Linked DNA regions of Homo sapiens: regions 2, 3, 4 and 5 are each linked to region 1. Evidence: promoter capture Hi-C in 16 types of primary human blood cells and fetal thymus (Javierre and others, 2016). All regions are on one chromosome and are shown on one strand. Each heading gives the region's core, a stretch centred on a gene start or on the middle of the fragment in contact. The rest is flanking DNA. Distances are from core to core; before and after follow the strand shown. Region 1 holds the start of TLR10 (toll like receptor 10). Region 2 overlaps TBC1D1 (TBC1 domain family member 1). Region 3 has its middle 190 kb from the start of PTTG2. Region 4 has its middle 170 kb from the start of LINC02513. Region 5 holds the start of RFC1 (replication factor C subunit 1).

Region 1 (3,697 bases), core at 824-3,323:
GCAATTGACTTTAAGCTTCTAGGTCTTAGAGCCATGGCCCCTTAAGAATGCAGCAGAATCTAACCCAGTTGCTTTAGCTGGAACTCTGCGCTGAGAAGTCAGAGTTTCTATCTCTTACCCACTTCTTCCCCCTGCCCAATACCACAGTCTTATCTGGGACTACAATGGGAGAGGAACTCTTTTTGAACTTCTCTTAATATAACAATAGTAAAGGTCCTATCTCTCAGGCAATACTTATGCATTATGACATTTTATAAAAACAACTTTTACATAGAGACAGGGTCTCACTATGTTGCCAAGGCTGCTCTTAAACTCCTGGCCTCCAGCAATCTTCCCACCTCAGCCTCCCAAATGGGTGTGATTAGAGGTGTGAGCCACTGTGCTTGGCCTCATTAAAGCAATTTTAAAAGTAGGACATACACTTTTTTTTTTTTTTGAGATGGAGTCTCGCTCTGTTGCCCAGGCTGGAGTAAAGTGGTATGATCTCAGCTCACTGCAAGCTCCACCTCCCAGGTTCAAGCGATTCTCCTGCCGCAGCCTCCTGAGTAGCTGGGATTACAGGCACCTGCCATCACACCCGGCTAATTTTTGTATTTTTAGTAGAGATGGGGTTTCACCATGTTGGTGATGTAGTCTATAAATAGTATATATATGTTAATATCATATCCCTACTACTACGTTAAAAGCAGGTAAAAAACAGAGAATGACCTTCCTTAATACATCTTTAATATCTTATAATTTAAAAGTCCAAGTCAAAAGACATCATCAAATGACAACTAGTGTTTTACCAAAGAATATTTAATCATCTAATTTATCTTTTCCCAATGATATAAAGAAATAGAAAAGAGATTAAGAACCTATTGAATGTTGAATGATCTTTGCAACATAAGAGTAAGAATGACTTCTTTTCAGTATTTCCTACGTGTCTGACATGGAGCTAAGTGTTTTATGTCCATTACCTTGTTTAATCCCTCAATGACTCAACAAAATGGCGGCCATTATTATTCATATTTTACAGATGGAGGAGCTAAAGCCCAGAGGTAAAGTAACTTGCCCAAGATGACCAACTGAAGAAGCAGAGATTTGAACCCAGACCTGTCTGGTTCCTTCTGGATGGTAACTAAACCCAAATGCAAGGCACCTCAAACCTTGAAATGAGGTGGCTTAAGATGTAACGACATCCTAAGGACCGAATCACTGAGGTTGAATCCATTGATCTGACCAGCTGCCATGGCGGCCACTTCCTCCTTTCTCACCCCATGCCCCTGTCTATGAAGCTTCATGCAGCTGCTGTGGGACACTCTGCTAGGTGCCACAAAGTTCAAGAGACTTTGCCTACATGTATAAATATATTCTTAGGAAAGTTATAAGTTCACAAGAATTGAAATAAAACTCGAAGTGCATCCTATTCCTAATTAATAGCTCAGTGTAGGTGGTCTGGGAGAAAGCTTATCAAGAAACCAAATGCTCACAGGTTGTTAACCATCCTCTTCTTTACAGCAACCACATATGGCCCTCTTTGTCCACTTCTGAAGGAAACGGAATAAGAACTGCATTGTACAAGATCCATCAGATCTGCCCCTACTTTTAAACAGGTAACACAAATGCAGAACTTTTCAACGGGGTAAAGGAGCAACAAATATGCCTTAAATAGCCAAAGGTTTCATCCAGCAGAGGTTAACATACGCTGTGGGGAAATAAGAGCTAGAAAAAACTTGCCACAGTGCATAGGACCGTTCAATCTGAATAGAAGAGCTGACCAGGTTTGATCCGCAATCAGTGAAAAGAAACCCACGCTCTCAAGCATCTGCAAGAAATTCCTCAGATCAATAGCCCCAAGGTCACTAATCATTAATCTAGACAAAATAGTAAATACTAAAAATCTAAATAACCCTACTTCCCTCCCCTCAATATTAGCTCAAATTATCTCCTTTTTAGAAAATACCCATGCAGCCCTTATATCTTTTTAATGAGAGTTACAACAAACAAAGCTAAGGTTCTTACCCCACGGCTTGCACTCTCTCAGCAGAGCTGCAGGTGCGTGGATGATTCGTTGACACGGTCAGAATTGGCTGCAGGAGGGAATTGAATCGAGGTTTTCTGTAAAGCTTAAACCCCATCCGCCCTCTTCTGCATGCTACTGGTATTGCATGTTATATATATTCATTATAATCTTAGCACTTTTTTAAATTGTGGTCAAATACACATAACATAGGAGTTATCATGCTCACCATCTTTCTATTTTTATTTTTATTTTTATTTTTTTTGAGGTAGGGTCTCACTTTGTCACCCAGGCTGGAGTGCAGTGGTGTGATCACTGCTCACTGCAGCCTTGACCTCTTGCGCTAAAGCCCGCAAGAGGCTGGGCTTCTCAGTCCCGCAAATGTCTGGGACTACAGGCGCTCACCAACTGGCCTGGCTAAGTTTTTTGTATTTTTTGTAGAGACGGGGTTTCGCCAGTTGCCCAGGCTGGTCTTGAACTCCTGAGCTCAAGTGATCTGCCTGTCTCGGCCTCCCAAAGTGCTAGGATTACGGTGTGAGCCACCGCGCCTGACCTTAAGCATTTTTAAATGTACAATTTAGTGGCATTAATTAAGTACATTCACACTGTTGTGCAACCACCACCACTGCCCATCTCCAAAGATTTTTCGTCATCCCAAACTGAAATTCTATGCCATTAAAAAATAATTTCCCATTTTCCCCTTCCCTCAGACCCTGGAAACTATAATTCTACTTTCTGTCTGTGTGAATTTGACTACTCTAGGTACCTCATGTCCGTGGAGTTATACCATATTTGGTTTTTTGTGACTGGCTTATTTCATTGAGCATAATGTCTTTAAGGTTCATCCATATCATTTCTATTATTATTACATAGAATAATAGAATCTTTCCTTCCTTTTTTAAGGCTGAATACTATTTTGTTGTATGTACGTCCCACATTTTGTTCATTCATTCATCCATCAATGGACATTTGGGTAGTTTTCACCTTTTGGCTCTTGTGAATAATGCTGCTGTGAACGTGGTGCACAAATATCTATTTAAGTTGGTACTTAACATTCTTTTGAGTCTATACCTAGAAGTGGAATTCACGGATCGTATGACCATTCTGTTTAATTTTTTGCAGAACTACCATACTGGTTTTCCACAGCATCTTAGAGCTCTTTGATGATGCTTTTCTTCAAGGTGCAGGTCGGTTATCCCTTTCATCAGTTGGGTGGGGCAGTCATGTGATGATGGGCAGGAGTAGGAATGGTGACTCCATAATTTCAGCAATCAGGCAGGAAGAGGGTGGAAAGGAGTTATCTAGAGCAGTGGTCCCCAACCCCTGGGCCACAGACAGGTACCAGTTCATGGCCTGTTAGGAACCGAGCCACACAGCAGGAGGTGAGTGGTGGGTAAGCAAATGAAGCTTCATCTGTATTTACAGTCGCTCCCCATCGCTTGCATTACCACCTGAGCTCCACACCCTGTCATATCAGTGGCAGCATTAGATTCTCATAGGAGCTTGGACCCTACTGTGAGCTGCATATGGGAGGGATCTAGGTTGCGTGCTCCTTATGAGAATCTAATGTCTGATGATCTGTCACTGCTTCCCATCATGTCAGATGGGACCATCTAGTTGCAGGAAAACAGGCTCAGGGCTTCCACTGATTCTACATTATGGTGAGTTGTATAATTATTTCATTATATATTACAA
Region 2 (3,697 bases), core at 345-2,844, 650 kb before region 1:
GATGATGGTAGGTTGAGCTGGTAGAATATCATGAAGCCAGTTATATATAGCGACATGAAAAAGCTCTTATTTGATACAATGTTAAGTAAAGGAAAAGTGGGATAGGAAATTTTATGTTGGTTATGTTTAGAACTAGAAAAACATGCTTTTAGGAAATAGGAAATATAGCTAGATATAAAAGTTGTATTTGGTGATTTTTCTTTTATTTTTCAAGCTTCCAATAATGTAGCTCTATTGCTTCAGTAACTTAAAATAGTTTTATCTTTTCGGCAAAACATCGAAAGTATGGAAATAGTCATTCCTACTTTGGCAAACAGAAGAGAAATTTTCTTCAGTACCAAAATTCTGGAACTTGACTGAAAACTATGAAGAACCTAAGAGCCAGGATGACAGGAAGGCTCTAGATCCCCAGTAATTACAACTCTAGTGGAATTGCTCTGAGATGGGCCAGCAAGAAAGAAGATGAGAGCCAGTCCCCCTTGCAGAGGGGCCAGGTACCTTGCAGCTTTGTGTAGTGACCAGTGCTCAGGGAACGGCTTAGGCAAGACCCTGGGGGAGGTGGGCACTGCACTTGTCCAGCCTCAGGAGTGACTCAGACCAGAAATGAAAACACCTTAAAGTGTATATATCTTGTTTTCCTATCAACACCTAGTTTTTAATATTCGTCTGTTTTATTCATCTGAGACAACATACCAAAGGATTGGGTTTTTAATGTTAGGCCTTCCTGCTCTTTCTCTGGCTGAGAACTGCTCCTGGCAGTGGATCACTTGTGCTGTCTAAGTGTGCAAGGACAGGCGCCCCTCCCAATTCTTTTCTTTCCCCAAGTAATTAGCCCAAGGGCTGAAGCCCTCGTTCAGTGACCAGGGTTCTCCTTTGACCACCAGCCTCATATTGCCATGGTTTGGGGTAAATTCAGGGGCATAACTGCAGAATGAAGGGCCTAGGAGTCTTGGCAGTCAGGAGATCATCAGGCAATTAAGCAGAGATGATTGTGACCCAGGGTGGTTCCTAGGGATTAATGGAGGCCTGGAAGAGTTTATGGCTTTGGGTACTGCTGAGAGCCATTAACTTAACACAGAACATCAATCCGTAGGAAAAGCCAGAGGTTTTGTTCCCAGGCTTTCCAGGTTAGGAGATCACTTAAATCTTTGTGAAAGAAAAAAAGTAATAGTGTACATGACATTTATTCAGCACCATATTTATAATTATACATGAGTGCCAAACAATCTCAGTTTTAACATTTGTGGTTTTTACTGTTCAGACTATTCAGAAGTTCCATGACGTGGCATCCATTGATGATGGTTTTGCTGAGGTTGAAATGTGAGGGTTTTGTGGCAGGTGTGTGGAAGCAGATCCCTTAGCTAAGAGAGCGCCTGCTCAACCTGCCAGGCGTGTGCTGGGAACTTCCAGGAGTTGCCTCGTTTAATTCTCACAGCCATCCTGGGAGGTAGGCGCTGTCTGCCCCAGGTGGGAGGCCAGGAACTGTGGCTGAGAGAGGTTAAGTACCGAGCTCAAGTCATTCATAGAGTCGCCAGTGGAGCCGCAATTTTAAGGCTGACTCAAAGCCTCTGAGCCAGTTACCTCGGCTGTCAAATGGAGATAATAATCCCTGCTGACCTCACGGTCGCTCTGAAGGACAAAAGAGAATCAGTTCAATCCAGTAAACAATTCTCTCTCTCCCTCTTACTCCCCTCGCACACATGCACACACACCCCACAGATATAATGGATTTTAGTTTTTAGGCATCAAATGACTTTTGTGCCTTATTAATATTATCCACTGAATCAAAAACAGCAAGCTGAAAAATTCATCTCAAGGAAGAGAAAATAAGATTGTTGGGAATGGTGAGAAAGGAAACATGGTTTTTGAAAATTGATTCCAGGGAAGATAGGCTAGTTTGAATGCCAGTAGGGAGCCATCAGAAGAAGTAGTTTTACACTGATTTTTAACAATATTGGAGTTGCTTAAGGCAATGCAATAGAGAGGCAGTTTCTGCCCTTTTAAAGCCTGACTTCACTTTCTGAATGTGTGTTCTGATCTAGCAGGGTTTTTTTTTTTTTTCTTTTAAGATGGTCCCAGCTTGACTGCATTCTCAGATCCATCAGATAAACGTTAGGGCTTCACTGCTGTGCTGAGAGGCCCCAGCCCCTGGGGTTCTCTCATAGAAACAACTGGAAAGAAAGGAAATGCCTTGGGCAGCAGCAGCAGCAGCTGTCTTCTGATTCTGCTTTCCGCCCTGCCTTCCTTACCAAGAGAAAGTACAGACACGGACGGCTTGAGTCACTTAGGCACTTAGGAGTTGTTTTTCACACGTGTGGTGTTTTCGTCACCATTACTATTGTGGGAAAGAAGACAACTCAGGCATCGTTTCGTATTCACTCATCTGTGTGGGTGACATGTGGGTTTTGGCTCATTTCTGCATATTTGTGTGCAAAGGAGAGTTTTTTAGTAAACAGTCCCATTACTTAGCTGTTCTTGTAACTCTGAAAACCCAACTGAACTATAATTAAACTTTGACTTGGTGACTCTGCAAACAGGCTATGATTCTTTTGTTTCTTTTCTCCTTTTAACCCATAGTTGATGTATCTAACCTAACAGAATTTTCAGAGAAAAGAAGTGAAATAAGAACTAAAAATAAATTTTTATGTCTTTAAAAATGAGAGGTTTTTTTTTTTTTTTTGGCTTTTGGAAGGTGAGTATCAAAAACCTGTACTTAATGTTACCTTGGAATTATTTCTAGATGTTTCTTATATCCTTTTGTCCCAAGTAAAATTATTACCTTCTCAGTGCGTAGTTTTTCTTATTTATTACTTCTAGTACCAAGTGTAGAGCTAAGCGTAGAGGAGACGCTTCACAGGTGCGCATTGTCGTGATTGCAGACGCCTGCCTGTACTTGTGGGGTTTTTCTCAGTTTTAGTACGTGATGACTTTTCTTTCTATAACAGGTATTTGAAATGGACATCGCTAAACAGTTACAAGCTTATGAAGTTGAGTACCACGTCCTTCAAGAAGAACTTATCGATTCCTCTCCTCTCAGTGACAACCAAAGAATGGATAAATTAGAGAAAACCAACAGCAGCTTACGCAAACAGAACCTTGACCTCCTTGAACAGTTGCAGGTAGAGCATATTTATAAAGCAGCTTCCTGAATCACAAATATATGGTAGTTCATTAACTCACCAAAGGCAACAGCAGGCTGGGCTTTCCCATGACCAGAGGACCTTTCCCACCCTGATCTGTTTATAGTTGGGATCAAAGGTATCCCGGGAGAATGGGTCCTTTTTATTATGGAGCAGACAGATTGTCCTTTGCTAAGGTCAGGCAGTCCCAGAGCTTTCTGAGAGGCTGTTTCTGCACTTAACTCTTTTAGGGGACAGGCCCAGAGATGAACTTGGATTCAGGATGCCGTGGCCTGTTAGCTGAATGCCAGCCGTTGTCATTACTCAAAGAGAATCTAAGAGCTTTTAACTTCTATGAGCAAAACCAGCTAGGTCCACAGAGGGATGGTAAAGGAGGAAAGTAACACAGAAATAAATATAACAAACCAGAAGAGATGATAATTCTTTGTGAGTCCTTGGTGCATATACAAAGATTTGATTAATGAAGGTCTCAGTTCTCCCCTCTAGAAACTTCCATTTCAACACGGATATACTCAGGTGAGGACATACAGAAGAAAGACCAGTTGAGACTGTGCACG
Region 3 (3,697 bases), core at 794-3,293, 630 kb before region 1:
GTACATTTGACAATGTCTGGAGACATTTTTGGTTTTAACAACTGGGGAATGAAGAAGGGTGTGTGTTAGTGTCATCTAGTGGGTAGAGGCCAGAGATGGCTGCTAAACATCCTACAATACTTTGAACAGCCTCCGCAACAAGTTATCATGGGTCCAAAATGTCAGTATTGCTGATGTTGAGCAACCCTGTTCTTGGGCAGTGGTTTTGAAGCTTGAGTCCCCTGGAGGGTTTCTTAAAATACAGATGGCTGGGCCCCACCCCCAAGGTTTCTGATTCAGTAGTTCTGGAGGGGGGCCTGAAAATTTGCATTTTGGTAAGTTTCCCGATGATGCTGAGGATGCAGGTCCAAGGACCACACTTTCTTTAAGAAACTCTGCCCTGGAGACTTTGCCTTGTCCACAGGGAAGAAATAGGCTTACCAGCACCAGGTCTTTGCTCTGCCTGTGAGAAAGGATAAAAGAGAGGGGAACATTGCCCATTTATTGCCCGTTGCCCATTTTATAAATACAGAACCAAGAAGTAGCAGAAACCATTTCCATCCATGGTCCATTAGCATGAACTCACTGATGTAGCCACACCAAGTGGCACAAGAGCCTGGGAGATAGGGTCTCAATGTGAGCCCCACAAAGATGGGGGATTTTGGCTGGGCATGGTTGCTCATGCCTGTAATCGCAGCACTTTGGGAGGGTGAGGCGGGTGGATCACCTGAGGTCAGGAGTTCGAGACCAGCCTGGCCAACATGGTGAAACCCTGTCTCTACTAAAAATACAAAAATTAGCCGGGCATGGTGGTGGGCGCCTGTGGTCCCAGCTACTCGGGAGGGTGAGGCAGGAGAATCACTTGAATCTGGGAGGCGGAGGTTGCAGTGAGCCGAGATCGCGCCACTGCACTCGATTGCCAGCCTGGGCAACAGAGCGAGACTCCGTCTCAGGAAAAAAAAAAAAAAAGATGGGGGGATTTTATTACAAAGGGAAGAAGGGAATGTGGATATTAGAGACAGTTCACAGTCTCTGCTGAAAGGCTCTGCCAAGATCTGCCCCCACCCCTCCTTGCTCTCAGACCTTGCTTCCTACCTCTCCTCCTCACTTACTGCAACTCTCTGGCCTCTGCTCTGCTGACAACCCCCATGCTCCCTCTCAGGGCATCTGCACTCATTGCTCCATCTGCTTTGGAAGCTCCTGTCCTGGTCAGACATTTGGTTTGTTTCCTCACTTCACTGTGGTCTCACCTTGTCTAATAGGCAGCCCCTGCCCCCTCTGCCCTGTACTCTCTATCCAGCCCTGTCCATGCTAATTACTGCTCTCTGACAGTATAGTCCATGTTTGGTTGCTTATCTGTCTGTCCCTGCCACAGGAAAGTAAGATTTGTGAGGAAAGGGTCTTACTTCCTCACTGTTGTTATATCTTGGGCAGCACTTGGACATAAGAGGCAATCAGATATTCAGTAAACAAATGAAAGTGCATCTTTCATTTTTGACAGACGCTGCCAGATTGGTGTTTAGAATGTAAATCCATGAGCCTGCTCAACCCTCATTAATATGGAATATTTTCTTTGAGCTTCTTGTGCCCAGTGTGGTTGCAAATAGGCCTTGCGGGCCTGGAACATTCATCACTCGCCTCTGCCTCGCTGGGGTGGCCTCATCTCCCCAGGTTCCTTGAAGCTGCACTTCCCAGCTGGGATGTGAGCCAGAGGAAACAAGGGGGTCTGGCTGCAAATCCTTCTAAGGAGGGGACCCCACCTCTCAGAGGAGTGTGTGATGGTCACACCCATTTAACGTGATAGCCCAATCAAGGGAGAGGCCATAGATTCATCTGATTTAGCCCCCCAGAAAAAAATCATATCCTTATCTAAACTATCTTGACTTACAAGATTCTTAATGGCTCAAAAGTGCTTTATCAGCTCAAGCTGATCTAAGAAAATAAACATTTCATAATTGTGATAATACAAGTGGCTCCAGACGAAAGAACAGCTCAATCCTGATGGATGGTTCTTATAAATAAACCAGGCAATCACACACTGCAGAAATAACTAGAATTTCTATGACTTCACGGGGAGCCAAATGGAAATGCCCTTGCCAAGTGAATGCTAAAGTCATCCCATAGTCAAAATGTGGTCAGGCGCTAAGTGTGAGCCAAAACATTTTGCTGCAGCTACAGCCATTCCTCAAGTGGAACCCAGTTAACTTGGGTCCTCAAATTGAATTTTTATGCTTTGATTTTTAGGGAAAGGGAATACACTATAACAAAATATTGCACATAGAAAGGGTCTGATTAAAACCAAAGAGAAACAAGATACCAGCGACCAGCAGCAGGCTGGAAATCGGGTTTGACTCAGTGGCTTACGTGTTGCATGTCTACAGACTACATCATCTGGACTTACAGCGCCCTGCAGCCCAGCAGTGTCCTGGATGATTAAAAGCAGGCCCAGGCATTGATTCATGAGACAGAGATTTTCAGCATCACTGGTGAAAATAAAAATAGTTTCCTTTTAGCCAGAAAAGGTCAGCTATCAGAAGAACCTCATTTCCTTAGCATTTTAATTTTTGAGATTTTATGGTGATAAGAAGAAACAAATTATTTTTCAACGCAGTGCATTCTAACAATTTCTCTGGAAAATTGTATCTTCTGAGGCCAGGCATCCATGTGGTCTTTTTTTGGTGGACATAATAGTAGCCAAGACAAAACCAGGGAGGCCCAGCTTTGCCTGCTGGCTCAATTCTGAGACAACTGGTACCTCCCTGAGAACAGGGCTTCACTCAAGACAGGTTGGCCAGAAGATGTTATTTGGTTCAGCCTATCTCCATACCTTCCCCTGGAGCAAATGTCATGATTTCTCATATTGCCCAGTCTCTAAATCCTCTTGGTAACTAGCTTGGTGGTTGTATTATTCCTTTTTCACACTGCTATAAAGATACTACCTGAGACTGGGTAATTTATAAAGGAAAGAGGTTTTATTGACTCACAGTTCTGCATGACTGGGGATGCCTCAGGAAACTTACAATCATGGCAGAAGGTGAAGGAGAAGCAAAGGCACGTCTTACATGGTGGCAGGTGAGAGAGAAAGTATGAGCAAGAGCAGGGAAAACTGCCTTATAAAACAATCAGGTCTCCAGAGAACTCACTCACTACCACAAGAACAGCATCGGGGGAAAAGCCCCCATGATTCAATCACTTCCCCTCAGGTCTCTCCCTAGACATGGGGATTATGGGGATTACAGTTCAAGATGAGATTTGGGTGGGGACACAGCCAGATCGTATCAGTGGTCTGTGCATTATGGGCAGTCAACATGGAGGAGTGAACACCTGGGAAAGGTAGCCAATTCCAGGCTTGGGAAGGCTCCAAAGCTGTTCCAGAAATGGAACCAGCCACCCCGGCAGGGTGGGGACATGCAAGAAACCATAGGACACCTCCTTGGCTTCAGGACTGGTAGGCACCAGCCACAAAGTCACATCTTGGCCCTTTCCAAGGTTTTCCAGAAAGTTCTAGCATTCTATGCACAAGGCAGGAATCATAATCCTGTGGTTTAGTGGGGCTGAGTGCGGCTGCTACCACAAACACTTCATTAGTCAGAAAGTGCCTCCGTAGGATCACCGGTAGGATCAGAAATGAACTCAAAGCACCAAAAGAAAATATTTTTCGTGTAATATATTTGGAAACTATTTCTCATATGCAGAGGTCCACAAAGCATTCAAAGGC
Region 4 (3,697 bases), core at 511-3,010, 580 kb before region 1:
TCCTGTCTGTAAAAAAGCTGCTTTTTGTTTTTCTTTTTTTTGAGATGGAATCTTGCTCTGTCACCCAGGCTGGAGGGCAATGGTACGATCTCAGCTCACTGCAACCTCCACCTCCCAGGTTCAAGCGATTCTCCTGCCTCAGCCTCTGGAGTAGCTGGGACTACAGGCGTGTCCCACCACACCCAGCTAATTTTTCTGTATTTTTAGTAGGGACAGGGTTTTGCCATGTTGGCCAGGCTGGTCTCAAACTCCTCACCTCAAGTGGTCTGCCTGCCTTGGCCTCCCAAAGTGCTGGGATTACAGGCGTGAGCCGCTGCGCTTGGCTTAAAAAGCTGCTTTTTCTAAGCTGCATTAATTCTTTTAGCCTGGCCAGAGGTGCTTTGGTAAATGTTTTTGCTTCAGGGGACTGATTAGTGCTTTGATGTCCCTAAAATGTTTTAACTTAGTTTTACAAAAGAGAGTGATGTATCAACCCAAGGGAATAGTGATGGGCTTTGGGCAGGTCATTCCCTGTTTGGAAGATAGGATGGGGAGCAGAAGAGTGTGGTTTGAGTGCCTGGACACTGTCTGGGCCTGACTGGAAGGGGACACCTTCCCTACAACCTACTGGCCCTTCTTCCCAGTGAGGGGGACGACTGGCCTTATCTGTTGCTAAGAAACTTATAAGAAACTTACACTCCCAGATTACCTTGTGCTACGCCATATCCTGTTTTGAATTTCCAAAGGAGAATAAATAAGAAGAAATGATAGTATTAACAAAATAGCTTCCATTTGTTAAACCCTTCCTATGTGCCAGTCTCCATGCTTGGTTTATATTTAGTATCTCAGTGTAGACCTCACAGCCATTCTAGGAGGCAGTGGTCACTGTCCCCTTTTCACTGACGAGAAAACTGACAATGAGAAGCCAGTTCTCCCAAAGTTGCCCAGATGGTAAACGGCGAAGTGAGGGTTTGACCCCAGGCCTGCCTGTCTGACTGTAAAACTTGGCCTCATAACCACTAAAGGAGCAGATAATTATTTAGAGGAAAAAAACAAATGTGGGGTCTTCTTCAAGATAGTGACAATGGAGATTATAAAGCACAGGAGTGTAGGAGGAGTGGCACGGTGTAGCAATGTGTGCTACGATGACAAGGAAGAGGGAGTTGAATGCTACCCAGAGACGGCTGCAGCAGGGGAAGCCACTTACCCATGCGAACAGGTTCTAGAAAGATGTGGGAAAATGAAAAATGTTGGTGGGGGGAGGTGGCGTGAAGTTGGTAAGATTATGGAGGAGGGACTTTTCTTCCGAAATTTTCATTAATATTGTTGATACATATTTCTAATTAGAACTTGTCAGAGACACTGGAACTGCTTCCTAAAGGGCATAGAAAATGTCTTATTTCAGCTTAAGGTTTATCCAAATTGAGTCGGTAAATGGTTTGTCAACTCACTGTGCTCCGTGTGGAGGCAGGGAGCTTGTGTGAATGAGTTACGGCCACATTCACCAAATCTCTCACTTTCTTTGGTTTCGCACAGAGTCTCTAAAAAGCCCTGCAATGGGAGGATTGAGTGTATTTTCTCTCTGCTCTCTTGGGGAGGCTCCCAAGAGAAAGGAAATGATGCCAGGGTGGGCAGCTCCAGGAGCTGGGATGCTTGGGGGCTCCTTTGTGGAACTGTCTGAACTTGGGGAGTTCAGAGAGCTTTGTGCCGTGACTTTAGGCTTTAAGAGACTTTTAAAACATGGAGTCTTGTCCAGGCCACAGTGGACTTGATTCCCTTAAATCTAATGGGTGACTTAGCAGCTCTCGTGTTTGTTGTGTGAGGTCATAGGGACATCTTCTGCCCAGTGAGCTACACAGATTGAGCCCCACACAATACATTTTGCTCCCTTCCCGTGACAGCCATCCTTGCACCTGCACCCTCATCTGCCTGTACTGCCAAGAGTCATAGGATTGCTTGTGGTGTGGGTGTGAGCGTGTCTTTATTTTCCTTTCTCCAGTCTGCCTGCTTTCTTGGGGGCTTGTGTTTGATTTTGCACTGCTCTTGCTCTCTCTCCCATCCCTGGCCACCCCCGTTCCCACCACACGCAGAGACATATATGTGTGCAGTATGTTTCTCCCCTTCCTGCTTCCAAGATCCAAAACCAGACCATTGCAGGACTACACTGATGCCTGAACTTCTCCACCAGACACTCTCCACCATATTCCTTCCTTAGCTACCCAAGCAAACAAACAGCTTTCTGGACAGTGACTGATGGGCCTTCCCATCAGTCAGATCCTTTTCCTCTGTTTACCATCCCTTCTTTCCATATACCAATCCTGGAACAAGTAGGCACTTTGGGAATACCTGTTGAAAGAACAAATCCCATTCCACCAAATTGTGGATTTGGCTCTTCCATGAAGATTTCAAGTTCATTTTGTTTACTTGCCATAGTTCACCCATGGGTGTAGGAATATCCAAGACTCTAAGCCTAACCTTCCAAGTCCCTCTCATGCCATTCTCCCCACTTATCACACTCTGCTGCCATTAAGCAGGTGCATTTCAGTTCCTCAAACCCTCTAGATTCTTTCCCAGCTCAGGGCCCTTGCAGATAAACTAATTCCTTCTCCTTGAAGTGATCTTTCCTCCCTCCATCTCCAGCCTGACTCTTCGCAGGTCTAGTTCCTTCTCGTCTTTCAACTCTCAGCTTGAACATCAACTCTTCAGGGAGCCGTTTCTCACCATGTTGTATCCACAGTGTCCTTTCCCCCTTCATTCTTTGTAACTACACCTTGTATCCTTCATAGCCAATCACTGTTTGCCATTATGTATCCATTTGTCTGTTGTCTTGTTCCGTGTCTGTCTTTCTCCCCAGGCTGTCAGCTCCGCAAGGATACAGATGATTCTATTGTTTTCACCCCATATACCCAGCACCTGGCACGGAGTAGATTCTCAACAATTCTTAGTTGAATTGAGTGGATGACTGACTGAATGAACAATTGAATGAGTACTTTTCTTTTCTCCCCCTGCTTTTTTTTTTTTTTGAGACTGAGTCTCGCTCTGTTGCTTAGGCTGGAGTGCAGTGGCGTGATCTCTGCTCACTGAAACCTTTGCCTCCCGGGTTCAAGCAATTCTCCTGCCTCAGCCTCCTGAGTAGCTGGAATTACAGGTGTGCACCACCAAGCCCGGCTATTTTTTGTATTTTTAGTAGAGATGGGCTTTCACCATGTTGGGCAGGCTGGTCTCGAATTCCTGACCTCAGGTGATCTGCCTGCCTCGGCCTCCCAAAGTGTTGTGATTACAGGTGTGAGCCACTTTTCCCCTCCTTTTTCTATTCTTGAAAATTACTTGTCACTGTCTCACTGCTATTCTTCTGTAACTGTTGTTTACATCATTTCCTTTTGAATGTAGTTTTGGGGTTTATTTGTGCATTTTTCTTCGTTAAGAGTCAGGAGTCATTCTATGCTCTCTGAACCACAAATGAGATCTTCTGTTTTATTCTTCCCTGCCCTAGAAAGACATATCCTACCCCTTGTCAGCCATCATCTTGGAGCTCAAAAATAAGATTTGGTGTTCTGTGTCCTGGATTACCATACTGGAATAAAATGTTCAGATGAAACTGGGAAAATTGACATGACAGAGAGAAACATGTAGAAGGGAAGAAACTGGGGGTTGGGGGGCCTGAAACTGAGACTGAATGTAAGAGAGAAGAAATAGTGCCATGGGCATGTGCTGCAGA
Region 5 (3,697 bases), core at 610-3,109, 580 kb after region 1:
CCATGAACAGGAGTACTAAAGAAAGAAAAGAACCAAAAGTAAAAGCACCTGAATGATCAAAAGTTGACCACACAAGCTATGTTCACCATAAATGACAGAGGAATCTACCATGCCTCTTAAAATCTATGTAACTTTCCATAGAGTCCTTTCTGAGAAAATAGATCACTGGTAGCTGTGTAGTTGCCTAACATGCCAGGCACCAGAACCAGAACGGAAGCTTTACCTATACATCTTGCTTAATCCCCAAAACAATCACTATGGCAGCTATTATTTTCCCCTCTTTTACAGATAAGGAAACAGAGGCTTAAAGAGATTAAACTTAAGCTATTTACTTGCCCAAGACCACGTAACTATTAAACTAGACTATACTAACATAGTAATATAACTATAAATTAATATATAAACCATTAAACTAAAATATTACCACGTTCTTCATCTTCAAGACTCCAAGTCTCAAGCTTCCAAAATACCACAGTGCTTTGGCCTCCAAAATGTAATGATGATCATTATAGGGAAGTAGTATAACATGGTGGTCAGAAACACCAAGATTCTAATTCTAGTTCAACCACCTACTAGTTATATGATACACTGTTTAAATTCCAAAAAGGTGCTTGCACCATCTGTAAAACTGCATCGATGTGGGTTGAAATGAAAAAAAAAAAAAAAAAAAAAAACCATGGAAAACCAACAGTTCACATATTGACCTAAAGAAGATGCTTGGTACAAGGTAGCTACTATCATTACTGTTGCCCTTTTTTGAGAAGAAACACAAAGGCCTGCAACGTTTCCCAGTGTGGCATAAAATTTTCACCGCCCCCCCCCAGAATGTTGTCACTGTGACACGTTGACCAATGATTGAAAAAAATTATATCGGATTGTTAAGTATCTTCTAGCTTAATGAACATTTTAAATGGTCCTTTAAAAATATTTCAAACACAGAGCCATATCCATTGCCATACCATCAGGAATGTCTGCTTTGCTGGCTGCATAATCATTTCACTTTCAATTTGTTTGAACATTTTATCCAGAATTATGCAGTGAGGCTTGGGTTTTTTTCAGATTTTAAACATCAGGTGGTAAGAGGATGACAGCTGTCAAATGTCTTGCATCTGTTTCTATTCGCTGTACTTCTTTTTCCTAGTAAGCCATGTTATCCTTTTGACTCCTATGAACTCATCTAAACAAAATAAAATATCCTCTCCATGCCCTCGGTCTCAACACCGCTCAGGTGATCGTTAATGACGAGCGGAGATGAGACGAGCTGAGCTGTTAATGATAAAAGTTTAAGGCCCTACACAACATATTCCCTAAGAAAGAAAAGTTTGTTACATTCTTCTCCCTCGTGACCCAAAGCTTGAAATCCACGCTTTAGGCAGTACTCAAACTGAGGTTCGGGCAACGCCGAACAAGAAAATAACTTTACCAATGCGTCCCAAAACCACCATCCTTCCTCTCTTCCTTTCTCCCTTCCCCCAAGAGTGGGGGGCGGGGGGAAAGTGCAAGTACACGTAGCAACAAAATCCCTGCGCGCTGGCTGCCGCCCAGAGCCAGAGCCCGCGATGCAATGAAAGTTTTGCGTCCAGTGCCCGGTGTGCGGCCCCTTCTCTGCCTTTGCTAGCCTCCGGAACCACCCACCGCCATCCTCCCCCACCCTGCATACCAGGAGTGCCCGGTCCACACCAGGCCTGCAAAGCCCCCCCAGACCCCGAGCCGCACGGCCTCCCCCAGCGGCTCACCATCGCAGCCCCAGGATGAAGGCGCTGGCTGGCTGGCGGGTGGGCCGGTTGAGGAATCTGTTATCGAGGCTCAGGATCCATTCGCGCCAACAACTTCTCCCGCGAAGTGCAAGAAGGCGAAGACAGTGGCGCGCGGTGATGACGTCAGGAGGCGCGAGCTTTGCTTCCGTCCCGCCCAGAGGCGGGAGGTGCGACGCCTGCCCAGGTGCTGCCCCGAGGGCAGGCGGGCCGCTGACATCGAGAGGAACCACGGTGCTTTGGTGTGAGCTCGGTTTTTGGCGGGGGCGCTAAAGTAGGGGGATCCGATATTGGTTTCCTTGGCAGGCGGGGTACCCAAGTACCTCCCGGTTACACGTCTGGACAATGCACTTCCCTATAGTAACTTTGAAAAGTTTTTACTACCAACTTTAGTAAGATAAATGTTTTAGCTGTGCGTTTTACATATTATGTATAAATATCTATTCTGTAATAAGGTTTCATCAAGAGGCCGGACGCGGTGGCTCACCCCTCTAATCCCAGCACTTTGGGAGGCCGAGGCGGGTGGGTCACCTGAGGTCAGGAGTTCGAGACCACCTGACCAATGTGGTGAAACCCCGTCTCTACTAAAAATACAAAAATTAGCCAGGGGGTGGTGACGTGTGCCTGTAGTCCCAGCTACTCGGGAGACTGAGACAGGAGAATTGCTTGAACCCAGGAGGCAGTGGTGCAGTGAGCCGAGATCGAGCTACTGCCCTTTAGCCTGGGCGACAGAGCGAAACTCCGCCTCAAAAAAAAGAAAAGATACCGAAAGCTTTGGGGTAAACCAGTTGTATATGAATAGATTAGCAATTGAATCACGGAATACAATGAAACATTTGCGTACGATTTCAAGAGAAAGATTAGACCATAAAGAGTTCAATGGAGAAAGCAGTATCTCCAGCTTTGGCTCTAGCTACACTTTTGAAATTCTCACCCATCCACCCCCTGTTGGGTCTTGCGCTTTATGACACCAACATTTCTATGGCGAAAGATAGAACAGCCTGGAATACAACAGAGGCTGAGCATTGACAGCTTGTATTTATTAAACGCCTATTGTTGTACGTGCAGCTCTGGACTAGCCTAGCTCATTTTATCCCCATGATGACACTGACTACTCTTATCCCGAATTTACAGACAGACTGTTACTTATTAACAGGGCCTCACTGCACTGTTCCCTCTGAAGCCAGGATGCTAGGTCTCCAGCCCCACCACCTGCTATTTATGTGACCAAGGGCAAGTTACTGTGCCTCGGTTTTGTCTTAGCAGACATATCACACAAATTTTTGCCCATAATTTTAGAGGACCTACACCAATTTATAATGTTCATTGTGTTATAAATCAATAAATGAGTAAATAAGACATAAAAAGTTGTACGTGTCTTTTATATTACATTCCTCTTAACTTTTGCTTTTTTTTTTTTTTGGCATTTGAAGCCTTCCTTGAGTTTAAATGAGACTTAAGTCAGGAGACTGTAACTTCTTTGTGAGATTGTTTTCTTTAGGAATATTTATTTACATGAAAATACTCTATCTCAGAAATATACCAGATCTAAAATGACTGCATATGCTTTGAAACTCCTCCCTTGAACCTGGACTGGCCTATGACTGATTTGATCAAAGAATACAATGGAAGTGATACTATGCCAACTCCAGACCTAAGCTTTAAGAAGACTGGCAGCTCCTGTCTTGCTCTCTTGGAGCACCATGTAAAGCCAGGGAGGTGGTCATCTGAGACCAGCCTTATAGCCATCTCCACCAGGCACCATGCATGTAAATGAAGCCATCTCAGATCCCATCCAGCAACTGATGGAATTTCACTAGCTTTGTTGACCCCATTCAACACCTGGGAGAGCAGAAAAATCACTCAGTCAAGGCCTGTCCAAATTTCCTGACCCACAGTAGCGTGAACATAATTAAATGATTGCTCTGTTAAGGTAATAAGTA

The links. The method cuts DNA at HindIII sites, captures the fragments that hold promoters and counts their contacts. A CHiCAGO score of 5 or more calls a contact.
Region 2: a contact is called between a fragment that was not itself captured here and the fragment with the promoter of TLR10 in region 1, in 5 of 17 cell types (naive CD8 T cells, naive CD4 T cells, total CD8 T cells and 2 more). The highest score is 7.6, in naive CD8 T cells.
Region 3: a contact is called between a fragment that was not itself captured here and the fragment with the promoter of TLR10 in region 1, in 3 of 17 cell types (endothelial precursors, total CD8 T cells and erythroblasts). The highest score is 5.4, in endothelial precursors.
Region 4: a contact is called between a fragment that was not itself captured here and the fragment with the promoter of TLR10 in region 1, in 7 of 17 cell types (naive CD4 T cells, activated CD4 T cells, naive CD8 T cells and 4 more). The highest score is 6.1, in naive CD4 T cells.
Region 5: a contact is called between the fragment with the promoter of RFC1 here and the fragment with the promoter of TLR10 in region 1, in 3 of 17 cell types (total B cells, naive CD8 T cells and erythroblasts). The highest score is 9.7, in total B cells.

The regions. Positions count from the first base shown.
Region 1 is chr4:38,780,917-38,784,613 of GRCh38, forward strand. It overlaps TLR10 (toll like receptor 10), which reads right to left and starts at 2,074. Exons shown (of 4, transcript NM_030956.4): 1 at 2,005-2,074. RefSeq lists enhancers at 954-1,163, 1,226-1,395. The HindIII fragment of the contact is 660 bases long and covers 1,447-2,106 here.
Region 2 is chr4:38,130,139-38,133,835 of GRCh38, forward strand. TBC1D1 (TBC1 domain family member 1) reads left to right here. Exons shown (of 22, transcript NM_001396959.1): 21 at 2,946-3,119. Among named protein-coding and RNA genes, the nearest start is that of PTTG2, 170 kb to the left of the region's middle. RefSeq lists a silencer at 2,800-2,939. The HindIII fragment of the contact is 2,765 bases long and covers 213-2,977 here.
Region 3 is chr4:38,148,523-38,152,219 of GRCh38, forward strand. No RefSeq gene overlaps it. Among named protein-coding and RNA genes, the nearest start is that of PTTG2, 190 kb to the left of the region's middle. The HindIII fragment of the contact is 3,669 bases long and covers 210-3,697 here.
Region 4 is chr4:38,197,694-38,201,390 of GRCh38, forward strand. No RefSeq gene overlaps it. Among named protein-coding and RNA genes, the nearest start is that of LINC02513, 170 kb to the right of the region's middle. The HindIII fragment of the contact is 6,971 bases long and covers 1-3,697 here.
Region 5 is chr4:39,364,503-39,368,199 of GRCh38, forward strand. RFC1 (replication factor C subunit 1) reads right to left here and starts at 1,860. Exons shown (of 25, transcript NM_002913.5): 1 at 1,737-1,860. The coding sequence starts at 1,739. RefSeq lists an enhancer at 1,782-1,901. The HindIII fragment of the contact is 1,173 bases long and covers 1,352-2,524 here.